4 separate regions of the Homo sapiens genome follow, and all the other regions are linked to region 1. Evidence: promoter capture Hi-C in 16 types of primary human blood cells and fetal thymus (Javierre and others, 2016). All regions are on one chromosome and are shown on one strand. The core of a region is centred on a gene start or on the middle of the fragment in contact, and the rest is flanking DNA. Distances in the headings are between cores, read along the strand shown. Region 1 holds the start of CYB5R2 (cytochrome b5 reductase 2). Region 2 holds the start of OR2AG2 (olfactory receptor family 2 subfamily AG member 2). Region 3 has its middle 14 kb from the start of OR6A2. Region 4 has its middle 68 kb from the start of RBMXL2.

Evidence for each region. Contacts are between HindIII fragments. The CHiCAGO score rates a contact against its expected background, and 5 or more counts as called.
Region 2: a contact is called between the fragment with the promoter of OR2AG2 here and the fragment with the promoter of CYB5R2 in region 1, in 1 of 17 cell types (M1 macrophages). The highest score is 5.3, in M1 macrophages.
Region 3: a contact is called between a fragment that was not itself captured here and the fragment with the promoter of CYB5R2 in region 1, in 1 of 17 cell types (neutrophils). The highest score is 5.1, in neutrophils.
Region 4: a fragment that was not itself captured here is called in contact with the fragment with the promoter of CYB5R2 in region 1 in 1 of 17 cell types (total B cells); the score reaches 6.0 in total B cells.

Annotation. Positions count from the first base shown.
Region 1 is chr11:7,672,019-7,675,092 of GRCh38, forward strand. It overlaps CYB5R2 (cytochrome b5 reductase 2), which reads right to left and starts at 1,482. Exons shown (of 9, transcript NM_016229.5): 1 at 1,401-1,482; 2 at 730-873; 3 at 433-505. The coding sequence starts at 807. RefSeq lists enhancers at 1,095-1,144, 1,165-1,264 and a silencer at 1,785-1,994. The HindIII fragment of the contact is 8,029 bases long and covers 1-3,074 here.
Region 2 is chr11:6,770,579-6,773,652 of GRCh38, forward strand. It overlaps OR2AG2 (olfactory receptor family 2 subfamily AG member 2), which reads right to left and starts at 1,398. Exons shown (of 2, transcript NM_001004490.2): 1 at 1,044-1,398. The HindIII fragment of the contact is 9,473 bases long and covers 1-3,074 here.
Region 3 is chr11:6,812,348-6,815,421 of GRCh38, forward strand. No RefSeq gene overlaps it. Among named protein-coding and RNA genes, the nearest start is that of OR6A2, 14 kb to the left of the region's middle. The HindIII fragment of the contact is 3,399 bases long and covers 1-3,074 here.
Region 4 is chr11:7,155,904-7,158,977 of GRCh38, forward strand. No RefSeq gene overlaps it. Among named protein-coding and RNA genes, the nearest start is that of RBMXL2, 68 kb to the left of the region's middle. The HindIII fragment of the contact is 1,190 bases long and covers 961-2,150 here.

The DNA of each region.
Region 1 (3,074 bases), core at 232-2,731:
TGCACAATACTTTGTAGTTTCTGAATTTTCATATCCATCAGTCACTCTACTTTCACAACAACCCAAGTGAGGTAGACAGGCAGGCCTGGGAAATCCCATTTCATAGACTGAGGCTCAGAGAGATTGAAGGACTTCCCTTAAGTTCCCCAGCAAGGAGCCTTCCATGAGATTTTAGGCCTTTTGGCTCTAGGTTCAGTTCTTTTCAATGCTCACTGAGGTACCACTCTCGTGTCAGCCCAATTGGAATAATGAAGAAAAGAAATTTTCTGTCCCACATCCATCCCCCTATCTATCTCCCTGAGCTCACAGGCTCAGGAGGAGCAAGAGGGCATCTTCCACACCTCAGGACGTGGGAAACCTGTGTTTCTGTTAAGAGAGGAGGGCCTAGCCCCCAGAGGCCCCAGTCCTGGTGATGACCCAAGCCCGGCTCACCTACAGGAAGCCCTAAGACATGGTCCGGCGAAGGCAGTCCAAAGCGGAACCTCCGGGTGTTGTGGCTGATTTTCTGATAAAACAAAACATAGGCAGGTTCTGTCAGCTTTCTAGAAGCCTTGCTGGGCAGCTGAGATGCCTGGGAAAGGAGGTCCGTTTGGCGCTATTCCAGCACACACACACACACACACAGGGCGGCGGGGAGTGAACTGGAGGCCATGAGATGACTGTCTGGATGCCCTGCCATCCCAGCCATCATCCACTTACTGCCTTCCACCCACAGGGCTGACCCATTACCTCTTTCTCAATCAAGGGCAGCGGGTACTTGGCTTCAGGGTCCTGTAAGGTGATTGGCTCTCTCCTCCTGGAGTTCATGCTCTTCAGGACCAACACGAGCACAGTGACCCCAGTGACGGTGATGGTCAGGAGCAGGGACGGGTCCTGGCAGACACAATGTGAACAGAGCACCTCAGGTCTTGCCCGCCCTGGACAGGGCAGCTCTCAGGCGCAGAACACCCTCCCCACACCAAAGGCACAGGAGCTGAGCTCTGCCTGCAGGAAATAGGCAAAGAGAACAGTAGTGACACAGAAGGCGGCTGGGAGAGCCTGTCGTGGACCAGAGGGTAGGGAGGGGTCAGCTGCAGGTCACACAGGAAGGATGTTTCAGGCCCCTGGAGCAGGCAGCACACATGGCCTGGGGTGCTCAGGTCACTAGGCCCCTCCTGGCTACAGCCAAAGGTTCATACACTGGAAGTCCCTTCCTTGAGGTGAAGGGGGAGGACATCACCCCTAACACACAATCCGGAATGAGGGGCCCAGTCCCTAAAGACAGAACTAGGGTGCGTAGCTCTAAGAGGTGCCCCGTGACTTAGGGCCTGGGGACTCCCCAACAGTCTCCTGGACAGGGCGAAGGGGGCCTGGGCACTCAACTGCCAGAGACTCGGGAGCCTCCCCGCATCTGTCCCTACCCTACAAGGCCGCCCTGCTCCTCTCCCAACTCAAGCCCGACAGGGAAAGTTGCCTCTCCTCCCGCCGGGTCACTGGAGTCTCAGCCTTCCGGAATCCGAGCCGGCCCGCCCCACTCCCCGCCCTTCGCGGTCCCGCCCACGACCTCTCCCCACGCCTCCCGCTCCGGCCCCCAACCTCCCGGTCGGACGTTCGTTCCCGGCTCTAGCCGGCCTCCGCGCCTCTGGCCTCTTTCCTTCCGGCCGTCCCGACGGAGATATTTCTTCAATACTCCATAAATACACCCCGCCGCGGAACCCACCCGGAGTGAGACGCCCAACACGTCGTCGAACTGGGGTTGGCCGGGGGCCGCTCCCCGCCGCGGGCCCGCAGACTCGTGGCGTCGCCCCGCAGCTCCGCCTGGCCGACGGGGAACCGGCCGAGACCCGGACACGCACGCCCGGGAGGACAAAAGCGCGGGCGGACCCCGCAGGCTGGGACCCCGGCGGCTGGCCCGCTCCCCGAGAAGGGCCGTGGTCGGGGGGCTCTCACTCACGAGCCGCTGGCTCTGGGTCAGCCCTGCCCCCAGGGCAGCGCTCCATCATGAGGCTGGCGGGGCGCTGAGCCGTGGCGTCCTCGCTCCTGCGCTGCCCCTCTGCATCCTGGCCCCTTCCCTGCACACGCAGAGCTGCCACACTGAGCGCCCCTCAGCTTACTTAAGCTCGGCAAGGCTGGAGAAGGCCGTCTGGGTGACCGGGCGGAGGGGGATGCTGGGGAAGGAAGAATTCAGGCAGCTGCAAAGAGCGCGCGAATATATTCATTCGACATACCTCATGGGCGCCTACCCTGGGCCTGGTCCGGGGCGGGTGTTTGCGGGGTGGGGCCGAAGCAGGGGCGTCGCCGAGTTGAAGACGTGTACTCCGAGCGCTCCTGCGTTCATTCATTCGCTGGGTGGAGAGAGGAAGGACAAGAGCCCCGCGCCGATCGGAGGGGAGCAGAATAGTAGGCACAGTTAGAGGGTCTTCACGGTGCGTTTCGGAACCTTGGCTGCCCGGCTCGCCCTTGATTACAGGCAAAGGCAAATTCTTGCCTCAGGACCTGTGTGAAACAGAGAAGCCCAGAAGCAGATCCCCACCTGTTTGACTCTGCTAGGGCTGCTGTAACAAAGTGCCGCAGACTGAGCGGCTTAAACAACAAAAATTTATTGTCTCGCAGGTCTGGGGGCTGGAAGTCCAAAATCAAGGTGTGGGCAGAGTGGGTTCCTTCTGAGGGCTGTGAGGGAAGGATCTGTTCCATGCCTCTCCTAGGTTTGTAGGAGAGGGGCTAGGAGAAGGGGCATCTTCTTCCTATGTCTCCACATTTTCATCCCTCTGTGTGTGTCCCTGTGTCCAAATTTCCCCTTTTATGAAGACACCAGTCATATTCAATTAGGGTCCATCCTAATGACCTTGTTTTAACTTGATTACCTATGTAAAGGCTCTACCTTCAAATAAGGTCATATCCTTAGGTACTGGGGCTTAGGGCTTCAACATAAGAATCAGGGTGAAAACAATAACCCATAACACTTTACCAACCCTTCTCCCCAAGACACACACCACCACAGGCTCAAAAATTCTTGCTGTGTGAATGAATAAACAAACTTAATTTTCTCTCTTTGACTTAATCAAATGCCTTTACTTTTGATTTACCTGCAGGTG
Region 2 (3,074 bases), core at 148-2,647, 900 kb before region 1:
AAATCAAAACTATAATTTTAACCTAGGAACCACTGACCCACTGACCGGAAAACCTTATTTGTCTGTTGACAACAAAAACACAAGTCCAAAGTCAATTCTAAGCACTATTTCTGCTAAATATTAGATTTGAAATGCCTTCATTTTTCTTGAATAAAAAGATGAATGGACAGGTAAATAAAAGGAGGAACATAATTAGCTGGGCACATTCTTCTAGCTTCCTGCACCAGATGTTTGGACAGGATTTCAAAGAGAAGAAAAATCAGGGCTTGGGTAAGGTGGTGTAACCAGGACTCAGGATCCTACATACCTACCTCCTCCCTCTGATACGGGACTATTGTTTTCCCTTCTTTCCATTTACTGAGTTCTCTCTGGGGTCATCTAAAGGGAAAGGCCAGAGAACACACACTGGGCCTACAGAGGAAGAGCTTCATTCTGGAAAACTGCTGGTGGTTGCGGGTATTTCAAACCAAGAGAAGTCAGCAGAGGCTGATATTAAGAGGCATTGCTATAGTTTATGGAAAATGGTCAGTCAATTAACAAGGTAGAGCTAAATTTTTGGAAGTATATTTTATAAGTTTTTCTTTTTCATCTCTGCTCAGTATATTTATTTTTTGTATTTACTTCATTTGGCTTTTTGTGTGGCACTGGACTTAGCGCCAAGCAGTCCTGCAGGGGAAAGGCACTTCAGCATATTTTAGATAGTCCTCCTTTGAGGTACTATTCATTTGGGGACTCACATCAAACTACTGGAGGCCAGGAAAATCTAGATGTAACAAAGGTAAGTACTGAGACTTTTACCAGGAGGCCATCATCAGGAATTCTAGGAACTCACGGCTGGCCAATGGCATAGAATTATTTTGGTTGTTCCTACATGTGCAAGATGGGTACATGTACAAGGTTGATAAGATATAGATGGGAGTGAGTGAATCATAAAGCCTGAGGAACTAGAGAATCTGAGAAGGAGAGCAGTGTAAGGTCTTGACCCTGTTTCTCAGGACTTCCAGACTTCCCATATTGCCTTGAAACGGAGACAGAGCCCTTACCTCATATGGGAAGGGGCATAGCTTCCAGGTAAAGAGGTTCAAGAAGCCAAAGAAAGAAAAGTTGCTTCTTCTGGCCAGGATGAATGTAGGTGTGTGTATGGCTGTCTCTAGGATCAGAGATCAAAGGCTCCTCCAGTCACTGGCACTGCAAGTCCTCTCTGGAAGTAGAGATAGATGCAGACAGGCAGCTGAGAACCTAGGGCAGGATCCTGCAGAAGTGAGGAGCTGAATCTCTTCCAAAGTTCTCTCATTCACTGTCCTTGCGAGAAAGTCCTTACTGCTTTGGAATGGTTCTAGCTGAGTTCTTAAGTCCAGGTCCTCAGATTTCATATATTCCCCTCATGCTGTGTTTCATGATAAAAGAGGAGCACAGCAGGAATGTGAGAAAAGAGGTATAAGAAGAGCTGCTTAAAAGAGACCCACCAATGCCCAGCCTTACTGTCTCTGCGCCAACAGTGAGGCCTGTCCTGGGGGAGGGTTCATAGTCTCACCCTCTCAGCTGACATGACCTCCCCTGAAAATATTGCTCCAGGAAATGGGATTTTAATAAATCCCCTTGGGCATGTCTCCTGGCCTGCCATTTCTTCAAACTTTACCACCAAATGAGCTCTGAACCTTGAGGCCTTGTTCTGCCCGCCATGGGCTTGCTGTGTCTCACCACTCATTGGAGTCTAAGATCTTTCTCCTGCCTTACAAAACCAAAACTATAATTTTAACCTAGAAATCACTGACCGGAAAACCAGACAGAGGCTGTTTCTGACAAAATAGATAGTGTCAGTAACCAATCTGAAAAGCAACACCTCCCTGTCCAGCCCTCTGTCCAAAATATAAAGTCTGTCTCATGGGTTCTATAGATGCTGCCACTCACATATCCCTCTTTGTGCCACTAGCCTGGGCTATTACCAACTAGAGGGAGTTAACTATGCTTCTGTTAATATCAGGTCTTCCTTCACTGAGCTTTAATGAGGATCCAGCACTAATTTATTTTTCAGTTCTTTGTTTCTCCTTTCTACTCCCTCTTGTGTGTGTTCATTTGTTCATGGGCCTACATATTCTGTGATCAGTCAGCTGAGCTGCTCAGAGCTTTGGGATGATGACACAGCACCTGCTTGCACTCACTTCTGCTTTTAGTTCAGGCTTTCCCATCTCTCACCCAATTCTGTGCTTAATCTTCCTCATTCTTTAGTATCTCTTTAATCAGCCATTTCACCAGGAAATGCTGAAAATTTCTTCCGGAGTTATCATATCTTTTCTCTTTGAACTTAAAAAAAATAAAAATAAGTTTCCACTTTCTGTTTATATAAAATATATACTCAAAATTATTTCAGAAGTGCAACAGAAGAACTAATATAAAAATCTTTTTATTTTTTAATTATAAAAGGAATGTACTGAAAAGACGGTTTTAAACATGTAAATTATAAGAGCAGCATTATTCACAGTACAATAAAAATTAGAAACGACCTTTATGCCCATCAACAGTGGAATAGATAGATATGCACCAAAGGGTTACTATGTAGGAATCTAAACAAAGGAACCAGAGCATACAACAAAAAAAGCAACTTAGGAAACTAATATTAAGGGAAGCAAGAGACACCTTAGGATTATATATCGTGGTACTTCTTTTGCAGTGTTAAGAACTTAAGTGAAAATAAACTTCCTATAAATATGTGTACATTCAATAAAACTACATATAAATGAAGAAAGAAAATGATGGACATGAAATTTGCGTTAATAGTTATAGTGAAAGGAGGCAGAGAGCTGGACTGCTAAATGTGGTCGAGTCCAAATCTTCTACTACTTGCCACACGACAGCCAATAAGTGGAGAGAAAAGGTGTTGGGGCAAGGAAGACAACTTTATTTCAGAAAGCCAGCAAACTGAGAAGATGGTGGACTAACATCCTAAAGAACTATCTAAAGTTGATTAATTTTTAGGCTCCTTTTATGTTAGAGGGAGGGGGAAAAGGGATGGGGCTAAGACCAGGAGGTGACTGGTGAACACAGATGTCTGGGCATCAGCAAAGGTCTGAGGA
Region 3 (3,074 bases), core at 170-2,669, 860 kb before region 1:
TTCTCAGTGCTTTCAGGGGGCCAAGGCTATGTATGAACTCCTTAGTTATAGATAGCTTTTGTGCAGTGGCTTTCTCAAATGTTGATTGTTTTAGTGATATATTGGGTATATGAGCTGACTCATTATCTTCTGTGGTGCTGGGAGTGGGGAGGTCTCAGGGAGCTTTTCCCATACCCTAGAACTATGCCCTTCTGTCAGCAGGTTTATTTGGTGGTGCAGTTCAGTCTATAGTCCAGTAGATGGCGATAAGGAGTAAGAGCGGGCTCATCTCTGATGACAAATGGAAGCACCTGCTTTGACAGAGGCGGTGGAAGGAGCTCATGGTGGGATGGGCTGATGTCTTCAACGTGAGGGGTGCCACGGTGGGACCTCACCACCTCCTTATCCTGGGCAGCCAGGAACACAACCTACATGTCTATTACATCCCTGTCACCAGGCTTGCTACTTTCAGTTCAGATAGACACTGACCCTTTTCTCCAGGTCTCAATGAAACTAGGGCCCGTGGAAAATGCCCATCTGCAGGTACCACTGAGATAGCCTTGAGGCTGAACCTCTTTTTCTGGTTTAAGACAGGTAACTCTGTGGCTGGTCTGCATTCCATTGCAGGAACACAGCAGCTCTGTGTAGGGAGGGGGAGATGTGCTCCACCTTTATGCAATTCCAGGAGGCAGGTACACTTTCAGTGGGGGTGTAACCACCTGGAATCATGCTGGAAAGCCTCACTCTAAGTGCACTTATGCCAATTCACAGTGGGAAAAACCTTGGCTCTGTCCACAACAGTAGACTGGGGGAGTGGGAGAAGATTCCCCTCATCCATTTCCAGCCACTGGTGTTGCCTGTCTGCTTGGGCAGAACAACACTTTTCCCCTTCAGAGACAACCACTGCACCCATCACTCTTCTGGGAGGGGCACAGTCACCCACTGGACACAAGTAGGGGGCTCTCAGGCAGGAGAGAGCTTTCTATTTGGTTTCCTTTGTTCTAAAGGGTGTTTTGGTGGGCTGCACTGTGCCTTCTCCCAGCAGCAGCCCATGCTGTGAACTGGATATCCAAGGATCTTGCAACTCCCAAGGATCCCACTGTTCCCCTGTGTTCGCTGCACTTAGAGCAGCATCTGGAAAATGTTTGTTGGGGATCTAGTGGTATGAAGAAACAAAGACTGAAATTCTCTGGGCAGGATAGTAGCCCACAATCAGTGTACAACCAACACGGTGCCTACCATTTCAACTTGGGTTCAAGGGGAGTGTGTGTGAACCTGCACAAACTGGCTACTAAGTGCTGGACCCCCAGGGAGTTTCCAAATTCCTCCTGACCGCAGTGCCTGGGCTTACAAGAGCAGAGAGGCTCTTCAACAATTTGGTCCTCAGCAGCCTGTCACAAGGGTAAGGAGAACAAAGAAACTCCCACCTACACTTTCTGTGGGATTGCAAGTTCCTCAGGAGTCAATCTCTGCCAGAGTCTTGCTGCCTTCCTTTTCTGCACCTGAGCTTCTTCCTGTGGCTTCTCTGACTGGTTTTGCATTCTTCCTCAGCATTCCACTCCAGCCATGATCACTCATCTGTAACTTTGTCTCTTCTTTCTGTAGAGAACTCACATCTGACATCCCTAGTTAGCCATCCACAGTGGATGCCTTTTGTTGGAACACAGATAATTCATAGTCTGTGCCCATTCAAAAAGTTCACCTAGCGTACCTCTTTCCCAGACTTCTTTATCACCAACATTCAAATCCTGTTCTTTCCAAGTCCCTTATCATCCAGCCAAACCACTGCCAACTGCTGATGAATTTGTGTAGGTCCACACTTTTGACCAAAATAACAAACTTCTGAGGCATGAAACAACATGGGTGAAACCTAAAAGCATTATGCTAAGTGAAAGAAGCCAGACACGATAGATTACCTAATGTGTGATTCCATTTACATGCAATTCAAGGAAAGGTAAAATTATAGTGATAGAAAGCAAGTTATTGTTTGCCAGTGTCCAGGGGGCACAGCTAGAGGACTCATTGCAAAAGGGATGAGAGAAATTTTGGGGGTGATAAAAACGTTTTGATTTTGGTCAGGCACGGGGGCTCATGCCTGTAATCCCAGCACTTTGGGAGGCTGAGGTGGGTGGATCACAAGGTCAGGAGTTCGAGACCAGCCTGGCCAACATGGTGAAACCCCATCTCTACTAAAAAAATACAAAAATTAGCCGGGCATTGTAGTGTGTGCCTGTAATCCCAGCTACTCGGGAGGCTGAGTGGGGAGAATTGCCTGAATCTGGGAGGCGGAGGTTGCAGTGAGCCGAGCCACTCGACTCAAGCCTGGGCGACAGAGTAAGACCCTGTCTCAAAAAAAAAGGTTTCGATTTTAAATTATTATTATTATTTGAGATGGACTCTCACTCTGTCACCCAGGCTGGAGTGCAATGGCACGATCTTGGCTCACTGCAACCTCCGCCTCCCAGGTTCAAGTGATTCTCCTGCCTCAGCCTCCTGAGTAGCTGGGATTACAGGGGTGCGCCACCACACCTGGCTAATTTTTTTTTGTATTTTTAGTAGAGGTGGGGTTTCACCATGTTGGTCAGGCTGGTCTCAGACTCCTGACCTCATGATCCACCTGCCTTGGCCTCCCAAAGTGCTGGGATTACAGGCATGAGCCACCGTGCCTGGCTGGTTTTAAATTATTTTTAAAACTAAAATAAAAATTGTATATATTTATGGTATACAACATGATGTCTTGACATATGTATACATTATGAAATGATTAAACCAGACTAATTAACATATCCATCACTTTATATACTTATTATTTTCTTGTGATGAGAACATTTAAAATTTACTTTCAGCAATGTTTAAGTATACAATACATTAATTATATGGTTTGGAAACTTGTCCCCCATAAATTTTATCCCAATATGAAATGTGATCGTCAATGTTGGAGGTGGGGCCTAGTGGGAGGTGTTTAGGTCACTGCTCATAGATGGCATGGTGTCCCTGTGGTAATGAGTAAGTTCTCACTCTGAATTCATGTGAGATCTGGTTCCTCAAAATAGTGCGGCACCTCCCTCCCACCCCACCTCCTGCTCCTACTCTCA
Region 4 (3,074 bases), core at 306-2,805, 520 kb before region 1:
AGAGTCACATGCATGAGGTCATCTTCCTCCCCCATTCTGATATTTGTAAGGGAAGGTATCCTGTCACCCATCCTGAATTCCTGCCAGCCCCAAGCAGGAACTTATGCCCTCACAGAGGTATCAGATAGGGCCTTCTGCCTCTTGTCCATCTTTCGTTGGCTTGCTCCCACGGGAGAAGAAGTGATGGATCTAATAGACCAGATGGAGAAAATAATCTACTAGTCTAGTTTCTCAGCACTTGTCAAACTGTAATGTGTATAAGAGTCAGCTGGAGGATCTTCAAGTGCAGACTCTGACCCAGTGGGTCTTGTCTGGGGTCTAAGATTCTGCATTTTGATTAAGCTCCCAGATAATGCTGAGGTGGCCACTCTGTGGATCATACTCTCAGTAACAAGACTCAATGGGGGTGCGAGTCGACTTCAGTTCTCCATGCTAAGTGCTTTCTCAGAAGCTCCAACTCTCCTCACCTGTAGGGCCCAACATATGAGCTACGGAGCAAGTGTTAGGGAGTGCATTTTTATAGCAAATCCAAGCCAGAGACACCAATCCAGATTTATCAGATTGAAGCTGATATTTTGATTTCTATTTGACACTTGTCTGATCCCCAGTTGGTCTAGAAGTCAGGAGAGAGAGGCTTGGTATTATCATTTCTATTTTACAGATGGTGGCTTAATGGCAAGCTGAACAACTGGGCTAAAGCCAATTGGGAGAAAGTGCAGACTGGGATTTGAAGCAGATCAGTCTGGCCCTTTTACCTGTTGTTTTATACTGTCTCCAGTTAAAATATCCTGTCCCACATAATCTGTCCTCCCCACAATACGATCCTGTCTTTCTTTGTATACTGTAGTCACTATATCCTGCTTCATATCCTCAACACCTGTCCTAGCTTCCTTGTCCCTTTTTACTACTTGGCCACCTTCTCATCTATCAACATGAAATCAAGGTCTGTTGCCTTTATGAAGCTTTTCTTCAATGCTTCAGCATGAACTAGGCCTTTCCTATGTGGCTCCTGGTTTACTGTGTGCAGAATTTCGTATGTTCTTTTGCCATAATTATTGTATTTATTTGTTACTTGACAATTTCCTCTTTCTATCTTTTGAAAGATAGGAATCATGCCTGATTTATCTTTTCTCCCCAGCACTCTGCTCAGGGTGTGTATGTTATTAAGTGCTAAATATATACTGAATGAATACTTAATACTTAGGTTGGAACTTAGTGGCTTAATATTTCTGTGCTCAATCTTCCTTTTTCTGTCTCCTTTTCACTCCTGTGAAGTTTGTTTGAAGTGCCTGTTTCCTTCTCCACTGTATGAGCAGAAATAGAGAGAGCAGGATCAACATATTATTATGTTAGAAACCCACTCATCACGTGATGAGGAACTTGCACAAACTTGTGGTAAAATAAAAGTTGGATAATATTTTTTTTGAGATCGAGTCTGGCTCTGTGGCCCCGGCTGGAGTGCAGTGGTGCGATCTCAGCTAACTGCAGCCTCCACCTCCCAGGCTCAAGTGATTTTCCTGCATCAGCCTCCTGAGTAGGTGGACTACAGGTACGCATCACCAAGCCCAGCTAATTTTTGTATTTTTAGTAGAGACAGGGTTTCACCGTGTTGGCCAGGCTGGTCTCAAACTCCTGACCTCGTGATCTGCCCACCTCGGCCTCCCAAAGAGTTGGGATTACAGGCATGAGCCACCGCACCCGGCCATAATAAAATATTTTTATATCCTGAGAAGTGCGTAATCAAACATTTAACTCAAAGGTAAGAAGAACCAGCTTTTTTTTTTTTTTATTAATTAGTGTATGGTCTTAAGCTAGTTACCTAAATTATCTGAGCTTTACTTTTCTTATCTGTAAATTGGTGGCTTGGACATCTATATCACAGTATTATCAAAAGATTAGATAAAACAATACATCTTGAAGAGCAGCAGGGCTCCAAAACTGCCAGTCTCCTTGCTTGCTCTTATTCATTCAGCTACCGTGATCTTTAGGCTCTCATCATACTTGCCTCTTTTTTACTTTCTGTCTCTCCCATTTCCATACATTTTACATCTGCTCCCATGTTTCACTCTCCACATGTAATATTCATCCCAATGCTCTTCTGCTCTAAAATCCTATCACCAAGAAGATAAAATCCAAAGAGCCTTATACCAAGCTTCTCCTGTAATCTTCCCGCATATCCTGACACCAGTTCCTGCTCTGGGCAAAGTGGGCAGCCACTCTTTTTGAAAATAAAAATTTTTTTTTTGTCCCTGGGATATTTCTCACATGTTCCATCTACTAATGGAATGACCGGCTAGTTATGAATTCATATGCCCAATTATTTAAGAATCCAAATCCCCTCCTCAAAACATAATGCAAGTCTTAATGCAAATACCAGATTCAACGTGTGCTTGCTTATCTGACCTGTGTGTCCCATTTATATAGTAATTAGTTTTTGCATTTTCCTGTTGGAATAGTACTTTTTCTGTTGTTTGAAAACACCCTTTAAATTTTGTCTCACCATTTTTTTCTCTCCTACCGGATGGCACCAGGCACTATGGGTTACTCAAGAACAGGGACTATGTCTTGTATTCCACATAGATTTGTATTCTGATCACTGCCTAACATGCAACTGATATTTATTCACTCCATATTGAGCAGTTTACACTGTGCCAGTCACTCAGTACATTAAAATCAGTATCAAGAGGAGGCTCATGAAGATTCCTCAATCTAGTTATGGAGATAGACAATACACAGGTGGAATGCACTGAATTAGTGGATAAAAATGGCCATGGATTCTTTGCAACTGTTTTCATCGAAAGGTGAAGTCTATTCTCTTGTCTCTTGAAGCTGGCTGCTCTTGTGATGTGATTTTTCAATGGAATGTAGCAGAAGCCACATTGTATAACTGTTTGCAGCATCTTCTCTCATCCCTTGGGACACTTCAACCATGAAAACAAGTCAACGCCAGCCTCGCTGAAGATGATAGACCATATGGAGTGGGGGCAGCCCAGCCTTCCCAGCTATCTCTCTCTAGATGAGTAAACCCAGCCAACCATGTGGAGCAGAGATTCTGAATTCAACCCAAATTACCG